Linked DNA regions of Homo sapiens: region 1 is linked to region 2. Evidence: promoter capture Hi-C in human tissues and cell types (Jung and others, 2019). All regions are on one chromosome and are shown on one strand. Each heading gives the region's core, a stretch centred on a gene start or on the middle of the fragment in contact. The rest is flanking DNA. Distances are from core to core; before and after follow the strand shown. Region 1 has its middle 20 kb from the start of LAMC2. Region 2 holds the start of LAMC1 (laminin subunit gamma 1).

Evidence for each region. The method cuts DNA at HindIII sites, captures the fragments that hold promoters and counts their contacts. A contact is called where the count stands out against the background at its distance.
Region 1: a contact is called between a fragment that was not itself captured here and the fragment with the promoter of LAMC1 in region 2, in 1 of the 25 tissues and cell types used here (bladder).

What each region holds. Positions count from the first base shown.
Region 1 is chr1:183,162,996-183,168,593 of GRCh38, forward strand. No RefSeq gene overlaps it. Among named protein-coding and RNA genes, the nearest start is that of LAMC2, 20 kb to the right of the region's middle. The HindIII fragment of the contact is 8,064 bases long and covers 1-5,598 here.
Region 2 is chr1:183,020,113-183,025,338 of GRCh38, forward strand. It overlaps LAMC1 (laminin subunit gamma 1), which reads left to right and starts at 3,308. Exons shown (of 28, transcript NM_002293.4): 1 at 3,308-4,022. The coding sequence starts at 3,605. RefSeq lists enhancers at 768-1,267, 2,005-2,560, 2,561-3,115, 3,671-4,224 and silencers at 2,627-3,016, 3,047-3,436, 3,487-3,556, 3,577-3,716. The HindIII fragment of the contact is 13,956 bases long and covers 1-5,226 here.

The sequences.
Region 1 (5,598 bases), core at 766-3,265, 140 kb after region 2:
GTATTAAGAACCCCTTGAAGCTAATGAACGTGAATTCAAAGTGAGGCAGTAAGTTGTGGGTGTGTGTGAAGGATGGATTCTAATGACTAACCATGGAATTTAAAATGGGTTAGGAGGGCTATGATGGTAAAGGAAGGTGGGAGAAGTGCAAAGGTGGCAGGTTCAATGGATCGTAGGCTCCAGAGGGTTGAGATATTATTAAAGTCTGGGCACTCGAGTGACTGAGCTTCAAGAATCAACGGTGGTGATTAGAGACGGGGTGCTTGAAACTGAGGTTGTGGAAAAAGTACACGTGATTGAAATGGCACCATCTAGATGTGATCACAGTAGTGAGTAGCTGAAGTAGGTGTTTTACTAGATAATTTGTTTGGTTAAGTAATCACACTTTTCTCTCTTTCAATCCTGTCCCAGTTGAAGCCACTTCAGTACATTGTCCTGAAGTTTTATTTCTCAAATAAAGCCTAACGAAATATTTATTCACTTTGTCAGCCCATAGGCCATGAATGACACATCGTGACTCATGGATGTCCTGGCTCTTTGCATCCTGCACACAGACACATGATGGACACTTGATGAGACTCCTTGATACAAAAGGGTGGGTTTGAGTCCCACATGAACACTAGCGTGCATGCTTGGGGTTGATGAAGTACACTTGTGTAATTTTTGTAAAGCCAATGGTTTAAATAGGGATATCTGATTTACTCTAACCAAATATCAGATTACTGTATTTCCTTTTGTGGTTCCATGTGCATTCTGCAAACTAGCATTCTTTTAGTGTACCTCTGCAGGCAAAGAATTTGGAAACTACATACCTATAAAACATTAATCAAAGCCCTTAGATTGACTGGATCCCACCCACCACTCTCCCCGCTGAGCAATTGAGTTAATTAAAAGAAAAATATCTCAAGAATATAAGCTCATATCAATAATCTCATTTAAAAAAATAAACAAAGATTTCCAAAATTCCAAGTGAGCAAAGGGTGAGCAAAACTTTGACTTATACTGTCTGTATTAACTATAGTGCTGAATAAAAATAATGGTTAAGAATGAACAAGATCCAAAATCTTCCAGAAAGATCATAATAATCATGCTTTAGATAGTGGGTGACACATTGAGGACACCTAATTTGTTAAATGAAGGTGTGAGTGTGCCTAATCTGGAAATGAAGTGCCATACTTTAGAAAAATACTGTTAGCAGGGGTATAGTTGGCCAGAAACCACTTGCAACACCAACATGTTCTTCCCTGAACTTTCTGTGTAATGAAGGCAGTTCTCCATTTGCTGCATTTGTAGGAAATGGGGAAACTGAGGAGGCTCTGAAATGGCCATGAGAATTCTTTTTAAGAATCTTCACCACAATTACACTGGAGCTGTTCAAGGACTTTTTTCCTTCTGCTCATTTTAATGGCCTGAGATAATAGATCAAAATGAAGGCCTGTCCTCAGATGTGTATGAAAGCACAGAAGAACAGGATAAGACAGGAATCAAGGCCTCTACCACTGGGGAATGCAGGTTGCTATATACCAGGCAATGGGTGGGTTTCCAAGGAGATGTGTCAGAGCCTTGGAATGCTGCAACTGGGCTGTGCCTGACCCAAGGTGGGGGCGGGTGCAAGGAACCTGCTGGCACATTAGAGGTCTTTTCTTCTGGAGGCAAACTTTGGAGAAATGTACAACACTAGCCTATGTCTGTAAGTTCATGCTTTGGGAACAAAGTTTGAATTGCTTTCAGAGAAAAAAAATATACTGATGGGGTGAAGATAATGGTGGCTAATTTTGATCTGACCAAACAGATATAAAAACTACAGGCTGATCCAACAATAATCTTCTCCCATTTTCTTTCAAATGAGCAACCCTAAAGCATATACTTTTTAGTTTTACAAGGAAGGAGTCTCTCCAAGGAAAAGTTCAAGTGGATTTTTGGTTACCCAGCAAATTATTCTAATTAAGACATGGCTTTTATTCTAAAAATAATAATAATAATAATAATAAAAGGGTGTGTGTATGTGTATGATTTTTAAGAGCATGTTAATTCTAGGACAGTCTGAACATCTGTGTCTTAGGAGAGGCATGTTTTAGGAGATTGCCTCCTTTTGGAGGAGGGGCAGGATGCCTGCCTACAAAGGGCGCCCAGTGGCCTGGAACACCAAAAGCACATTCTCAGGGCATGCAGAGGTAACTGGTTGAAACTTGCCAAAGGATGCTTTTCCATTTGGCTCACAGCAATTCATTTATATTGGTTTTGACCATCCCACTCATTTTATTTTTAAGTCCTTATTCATTTTCGGGCCTTTCCGTATAGGGTTAGCAAGGAATTACTAATTCCGGATCTGCCCACTGTGACACTCAACTAGAAGATTAAGTCAGGTTTTAGAAACCTTGTTTTTGTCATATTTCCCCCATGCCCAGGCTTAAGAACACTCCAAATACTAATAATTACAGGAAATTCCATCAATTTGGGGGAATTGGCTTTAGACTATTTTTTAGTTGGTGTTCAGTGAAAATAAAATAATTCATTCAAGTAAAGACTAGATGGGAAAAATTACTTGAGGAGAAAAGACAAATCTCCCTTACAGAGGAACTACAAATAATTTATGTAGATGTTCTGCCCTCAAGGAGATGCAGGATAACTCACACTCCTTAAGTGTGGGCAGCACATAGCGAATTCCTCTCAGAGCACAGTATTGAAAAGGGCGGGGAGAGTCATGTTACCATGGGCAACACTACAAACTACTTCACCCAGGGGCTCCAGAGTAACCCCAACAGTGGGAAGTACTCTTGACACAATGAAATGAAAATGGCACTTGCCTCTGTGGTCTTCCTCACCAAAACTAGTAACCCTGTTCTATTATAATCATGAGAAAAACATCAGACAAACCTCAACTGAAGGATGTTCTACAAAACGCCTGCCCATTACTCCTCCAAACTATCAAGGCCGTCAAAAAACACGGACAGTCTGAGAAACTGTCACAGCCACGAGGAGTCTAAGGTGACAACCAAGTGTAACGTGATATCCTGGATGGAACCCCGGAACAGAAAAAGGACATTGGGTAAAAACTGAAGAAAATATGAAGAGAATACGAACTTTATTTATTTATTTATTTATTTTTTTGAGATGGAATCTCACTCTGTTGCCCAGGCTGGAGTGCAGTGGCACAGTCTTAGCTCACCATAACCTCTGCCTCCCGGGTTCAAGCAATTATCTGCCTCAGCCTCCCGAGTAGCTGGGACTACAGTTGCGTACCACCATGCCCACCTAATTTTTGTATTTTTAGTAGAGACAGGGTTTCACCATGTTGGCCAGGCTGGTCTTGAACTCCTGACCTCGTGATCCATCCACCTCAGCCTCCCAAAGTGCTGGGATTACAGGTGTGAGCCACCATGACCAGCCGAGAATATGAACTTTAATAATAATAATGTGCCAATATTGGTTTGTTAATGGTAACAAATTCCTAATGTGGGATGCTAGTAATTCCCCTAGTAATAGGGGAAACTGAATGTGCCATTTATGGGAATTCCATTATATTCTCAATCTTCTGTAAATTTATAGCTGTGCAAAAAAAAAAAAAAAAAAAAAAAACCTGTTTAAGGAAAAAATTACTTGACTGAAAGAGAACACTCCACCCACCCCACCCAACCTGCCACCCCTGCTTTCACAGAGTCAGCCTGATGCAGAAAGTCTAATCATGAATTGCGCAGTTCTGGGTAGTTGGAACCCTGTAAATATGGATCATGCAGCAGGCGATGTTGTGAAGAGAAGTATGTTTCAGAGCTCCCAGCTTCTCTGTTCTGGATGTGCTTCCCCCTTCCCCTGCCCTGCCCCCATAATGATAAGGCTAATACTTACATAGTATTATGTAATATGTAGCCCATGTATTGCCTTTCTCCTTCACAGCAGCCAACACTATGGAATAGGAGGGTTCTATTAGCATTACTGTATCCATGAAGAAGATGAGACCTAGAGAAGTTAAGGACCTTGCCCAAGATCCCTTGCCTGTAAGGATGGAGCTGGGATTCAAATTCAGACAGCCTGGGCCCCAGAGCCAGTGTGCTTTTAACCTTTGTCATTGGTCTACTTCCCTCCCTCATTCACTTCTCTTCCAGGTATTCAGAGGCTCATACTTTCTTTAAGCAGGATTATCCTTAGTCTAAGAATGGTCAAGTTTACTACAACCCATGATGTCAGCTGTACTGTGTAGACTCCATCAAGAAATAATAGATGTGGAGGTGGGTGCTTGGAGCAGGGGAAAAGTGCCACTCTATGAAGTAAGGCCTGGTTAAAATTATAGCGTTGGCCCACATCCTACACTCCGATCACCGCAGGACCTGGATGATACTGAATCCCATCCTATAGTCAATTCTAGCTGTAAAACTAATGTTGTTCCCATCTGATGTCTTGGAAACAAACCAGCACTGGGGCATTTTCAAGTGGTTTCGATAATGAGCATTAGTAAACCCACAGGTGTGCCTAAGTGAGGATTTGTGAAGCTGAGCATACTTTCCCAACCCTACATTTCAGAAAAGTTGGCTCCCTTTTATTTACAAAACGAGGTGGAATTGGATGTACTAGTCCAAATGAAGAGAAATAGGTTCTCTTTCATGTTTGAAAGAGATGTACATAAGACTCTAAAAGATGTACATAACAATAAGTTATTAAAAATAGCAACTTCTCAAACCCTGCCCTTTTCCATAAATTTCTTTAAACAGTCAGAAAGTTCACAATTTAATAAAGACTCTCAGAAAGGCTAGTCAAGGAATAGGCCCATTCAGTAACTTCATAAATATAGGGGGTTAAAAAATGAAATCTTCCATGATGACTTCCTGCTGGAAAAGTCAAAGCTAGTTCAGACCACTTGGAGGGAAGACTTCACCTCCGGAACACATTGTTTGCTTTTAAAGTTCCCTGGGAGTGTGGGATGGTAACAATTTTTTTTTTTTTTTTTTTTGGTTATCTGTGTTTCTAATGTTTCCACAATGGACATTCATTGCATTTGTCATAATACAAGTAAATGAGAAAAGCTATTTTTAAAAGAAAGTTCAGATTGCTGTTTGGACAGGAAATCACTTACCTGGAAAATCACTGATGTGAGGCTGGGTGCAGTGCCTCACGTCTGTAATCCCAGCACTTTGGGAGGCCAAGGTGGGCAGATCACCTGAGGTCAGGCATTAGAGACCAGCCTGGCCAACATGGCAAAACCCCATTTCTACTAAAAATACAAAAATTAGCGGGGCGTAGTGGTGCATGCCTGTAATCCCAGCTACTTGGGAGGCTAAGGCAGGAGAATCGCTTGAACCTGGGAGGCGGAGGTTGCAGTGAGGCAAGATCGTGCCATTGCACTCCAGCCTGGGCTGACAGAGCAGGAATCCATCTCAAAAAAAAAGAAAAGAAAAGAAAAGAAAATCATTGATGTAAACGTGGAGAGGAGCCATTCTGCCTGAGACTGACTGACAGGCATTGCAAAGCAGTGCCCTGGTTTTAGGGATGATGTTTCTTCTATGACTGCAGCAGGACTCTGGGGAATTCCATCTAACACTGTTGGTGGGTTGAAGATCTGGCAGATGGTTTGGGTAGTCCGGTTCCATGGAATTAACAAATAAC
Region 2 (5,226 bases), core at 2,058-4,557:
TGACCAAAGCCAAGCCAATCAACATCCTTCCTTGAAATTATTTATATAGATTATGAAGGGAGAAATCTCTTTTCTCTGGAGTTTCACATTTTTTTTCTTTAATTGGAGCTCTCTTGCCCATACAATAAACAATAAACAATTACATTTCCTCATCCTGCCTTTGTTGCTGCATAGAGACACTGATGATTGGGCACTAAGATCATCTTTTGAGGGACCTGAATAAAGTTTTCCCCATCCGTTCACATTTTTCTTCTAAGTACCATGTCTGGTAGATAATGAAACTCCCCTCCCCCTCCCCCTCCCCCCTCCATCCCTCCTTTTTCTCTCTGTCTTTCAGATAATAGAATTCCTCTCTCTTTCTTTCTTTCTTTTCTTTTTTTTTTTGAGACAGGTTCTCACTCTGTCGCCCAGGCTGGATGGAGTACAGTGGCGCAATCTCGCTCATTGCAACCTCTGCCTCCTGGGTTCAGGCAATTCTCCTGCCTCAGCCTCCCGAGTAGCTGGGATTACAGGCATGGACACAACGCCGGGATGATTTTTTTCCTTTGAGACAGAGTCTTGCTCTGTCGCCCAGGCTAGAGTGCAGTGGCGCGATCTTGGCTCACTGCAACCTCCGCCTCCCTGGTTCAAGGATTCTCCTGCCTCAGCTGCCCAAGTAGCTGGGATTACAGGCACGCGCCACCACGCCTAGCTAATTTTTTTATTTTTTTAGTAGAGTTGGGGTTTCACCATGTTGGCTAGGCTGGTCTAGAACTCTTTACTTCAAGTAATCCACCCGCCTCGGCCTTCCAAAGTGCTGGGATTACAGGCGTGAGCCAACGACCCCAGCCGGCCCGGCTAATTTTTGTAATTTTAGTAGTGTCAGGGTTTCACCATATTGGTTAGGCTGGTCTCGAACTCCTGGCCTCAAGTAATCCCCTGCCTCGGCTTCCCAAAGTGCTGGAATTACAGGCGTGAGCCACCGCGCCCGGCTGATAATGAAATGTCTAAGCACTTAAGAACGTGCATTCAAAAGACTGGAGTTTTTTGAAAAACAGGGTAACCTGCAGTAAAAGAAATTCTTACACACTTTCACTTTTTTTCTTTAAATACTGTCTAGTAGACTGTGGCATCTCTAGGTGGCTAAAATAATTTGTCGATAACATCAAACATCTGGTTAGTGTTCAAATTTCTCAAATTGTCTTAAAAATTTTGTTTTAACCGTTGATTTGTTTGAATCAAGATCCAAATAACGGAGCAAAATTTTTATCATCAAGCCCACTGGCTGGTTACACTTTACCTCTTTTCAAAATAGATGTTTGTCACTGTGACACATTTCCATAAGCAAGAGAATTGAGAGATTAATTCAAGGTCTCTTTATGTGCTTTACAAATATCAGATAAGCTCTGGTAATTAAGTTACGGAAAATTCGCATAAGTAATATCTTGATGTTAGTCTTGGACATTAGGACTCAAAAGGCAGCAATGACAAACCCATTTATGTTGATTTCACAGCCTTTGGGGGTCTCCTTGTCTTTATTTTGATTGTTGGAAATAGAGACCCACGCTTTGGCCACTATATAACAAAGTACTAAAAATGTATAATAATGCAAATTCACTAATATGTTTATTAAAATATAAACAAGTTTATTACAAATCTGTAGCTTTATTCACAACTAACATCCTTATTTTTGTCCTATATGCCCACGTTTGTCCTCAAGTACAACGAAGGACTGAGAGAGCATATAATCCCCTCTAGGTGTAAATGAACGTATTTATTTCGCTTCAACTCATGTATGAAAGGATTAAAAAATTATTAGTCCCCACAACTTAATTCTCCCAAAGAGAAGGTGCCAAGAATGAGGCACCTTTAGCCATGCATAATCTCCACCCATCTCATCAAATAAACGGAACAGTGATGAACATAACTTGCTAAGTAAGCTCAGCCGTGTAACAAGACCCTAGATTCCCCTCCCTTCTTCATCCTACCAGAACATTATCCTTAAGGTTTTCCTAATCAGCAGTCTGCGTCTAACTAACCCTAACTATCCAGAGTCACCTAACATATACTTATTTCCTTGTTTCAGATTCCCATTACGCCTATCTTAATGGGACAACTGGGTCCGAAATTATGCATGTGTTTTTTTGTTTTGTTTTTGCGGTGTACTTATTATCCGCACTTTATCATTAAATTCCTGAAAAGCTAGAACAAAACAAATCCGTGTCATTCACTATGTGCATCCTCTCTGCTTGGGGACGCCAAGGGTTTCAAGCTGCTGCCTCCCTGCCCTGGTCTCTGCTTGCCGTATCCAGCACTGGGTAAGCGCCCAGGTTCTGCTCCGGGACTAAAACTCATGATCTTCTGGCTCAGGTTCTGTGAACTGAGTCATTCTGGCACTGAGAATATTCCGTGACTCAGCAGGCCCGAAAAGGAGGATGTCAGAATCCACATAATTTCGAGTCTTTTAAAGGCAAGCCGAGGAACACAAACAACACAGTGGAAGAATTTCGCAGTGGGTCGTGCGTACCCAAGGGAAAAATTCATTCCATTCCCAGCCTTTTCACTTCCTTCCTTGCCCCGGTAAAACGACTGGTTACACTTTAAATCAGCGGCAGGAAATCGCTTCACGAAACTCATCTGGCTGCTGCGACCAGGCCCTTCTGATTCTCCAGGGACCGTGTCGGCCCCATGAACGCCCCGGGACCTCTGTTCGGGAGGGGCTGGAGCGGGGCCCCGGGCAGCAGCGGGCGCTCCCGGTTCGGACCCACACCTGGCCGGGCGGGGACCCTCTTGCCGCAGCCCAAATTGGCGCGAGGCCCCAGGGACGACCCCGAGCGACCTCCTGACCCGGCATCGCCCCTCTAAGGCGCCCTCCCCCGACTCCTCCCGCAATCCGGAGTCTCCCAGGCCGCGGAGCCCAAGGACCCCAGCGACTCCCGCGCGGGGAGCGGGTCTGCGAGGCCGCCCTTCCCTCCCGGCATGCACCACCCAGCCGCCCTCCCCTCCCCTCCTCTCCTCTCCCCTCCCCTCCTCTCCCCTCCTCTCCCCTCCCCTCCCCCAACCCCCTCCCCCGGCTCCCCGCCCACCTCGCGCGCCCCTCCCCCCGGGTCGCGCGCCGCGGGCCCGAGCGCGAGACGCCGCTGCTCCCGCCCCCGCCGCCTCCTGGAGTCGCCGGGGCGGACGCGCAGTCCATGGGGCGCGGTGGGCCGGGGAGTTGCCCCAGGGGCCGCGGGAGTTGCTGAGAGGAGACAGGGTTGGGCTTTCTCCTCGCCCAGACCCCACCCCACCCTGCCGACCCCACCCCCTGCTCCTTCCTCCCCGGGGGCGCGCACTCGGGCACGCGCTCGGAAGTCGGGGGTCGGCGCGGAGTGCAGGCTGCTCCCGGGGTAGGTGAGGGAAGCGCGGAGGCGGCGCGCGGGGGCAGTGGTCGGCGAGCAGCGCGGTCCTCGCTAGGGGCGCCCACCCGTCAGTCTCTCCGGCGCGAGCCGCCGCCACCGCCCGCGCCGGAGTCAGGCCCCTGGGCCCCCAGGCTCAAGCAGCGAAGCGGCCTCCGGGGGACGCCGCTAGGCGAGAGGAACGCGCCGGTGCCCTTGCCTTCGCCGTGACCCAGCGTGCGGGCGGCGGGATGAGAGGGAGCCATCGGGCCGCGCCGGCCCTGCGGCCCCGGGGGCGGCTCTGGCCCGTGCTGGCCGTGCTGGCGGCGGCCGCCGCGGCGGGCTGTGCCCAGGCAGCCATGGACGAGTGCACGGACGAGGGCGGGCGGCCGCAGCGCTGCATGCCCGAGTTCGTCAACGCCGCCTTCAACGTGACTGTGGTGGCCACCAACACGTGTGGGACTCCGCCCGAGGAATACTGTGTGCAGACCGGGGTGACCGGGGTCACCAAGTCCTGTCACCTGTGCGACGCCGGGCAGCCCCACCTGCAGCACGGGGCAGCCTTCCTGACCGACTACAACAACCAGGCCGACACCACCTGGTGGCAAAGCCAGACCATGCTGGCCGGGGTGCAGTACCCCAGCTCCATCAACCTCACGCTGCACCTGGGTAAGCGGTGACAGCCCCGTCCCCTGCTACTGCTCGCCAGCAGCCCAGCTCCCGGACCGGCTCCGTCCCAGTGGCCGGCCTCACGGGCGCAGACGGCCGCGTGTTTGCTCTCTGTTCCCCGGCATGGGCCACACAGAAACTCCTTTCTCCAACTTCTTAAATAGATACTGCTTTTAACATCCCGTGAGGGCCAGGATGTTCCGCACGAGTCTCTCTGCTTTCCTGTTCTTTCTGACTTAACGGGATTCTGGCTCTCTGATTATTCTGCATTTCGGCTGTTAGGATTGTGATTTCCCCCTTTTTTTTCTGAAGCGTTAATCAGAAACTCCCATCCCCACTTTTCTCTTTGCTAGCAAGGTCATCACAGCGCATTCTTGGATCGGAAACAAGAAGGTCCGCCTTAAACACTTTCGCCTTTAAAATGTTTAGATGTCCTTCCAGGGCTGAGGGTGATTGCTCTGTTGAGTTAAGGGGGAATTTGAGGGGAGCAAATGCCTTCGCTGCCTATATTGCCTATGTGTAATTAAAACATAAATTCACTTTTGAAGTTATTGTTCTTTATAGCTGCTCAGCCTTAATTAAGAACCACAAAGCGATTTGACTGCTAATCCTGGTGCAGAATGAACAAAAGGAAGTGCACTCACTGTAATTGCTGGGCATAGCCTTGTCCCTGGGTAAAAAGGCTCTCCTTTACTGTCTTCCCTTTTGCTTTCATTCAAAGCAACTGTAGAAACACGTGTAAGTGATGTTTCAGAAATCAGGAAAGGGATGTGTAGAAAACTTCATGGCAGGGCAGTGGATTGAGGATGGACATATGTATCTGGAAGCACCAAAAATAATGTTCGGTCTAGCTAAGGTTTTCTTCATCATTGAGATACGTAAATAGGCAGAAAGTTTCATTATTGTGTTTAACAGAGGAATCTATGTGTGAGAAACACGTTTGACTTAACACTTCACTCCCCATTGCCTTGGAAGGCTTGATTATTACCAGTAGCTGGTACTAATGAACTTCCAGAGAGAACAGACTGCCTCAAGCCATTCTTCTGTCAAGGGAGGGTAATTTTGTAAGGCTAATATCACTTAGGGGTGTTGGAAAGGAACATGTTGTAGGCAAATGGTTCTTTTGATCATGATTTTGCTGCTCTCCGGTACACTAAACTTTATGTAAGTATCAGGATTCCAGAGAAAGAATTGGACTTAACAA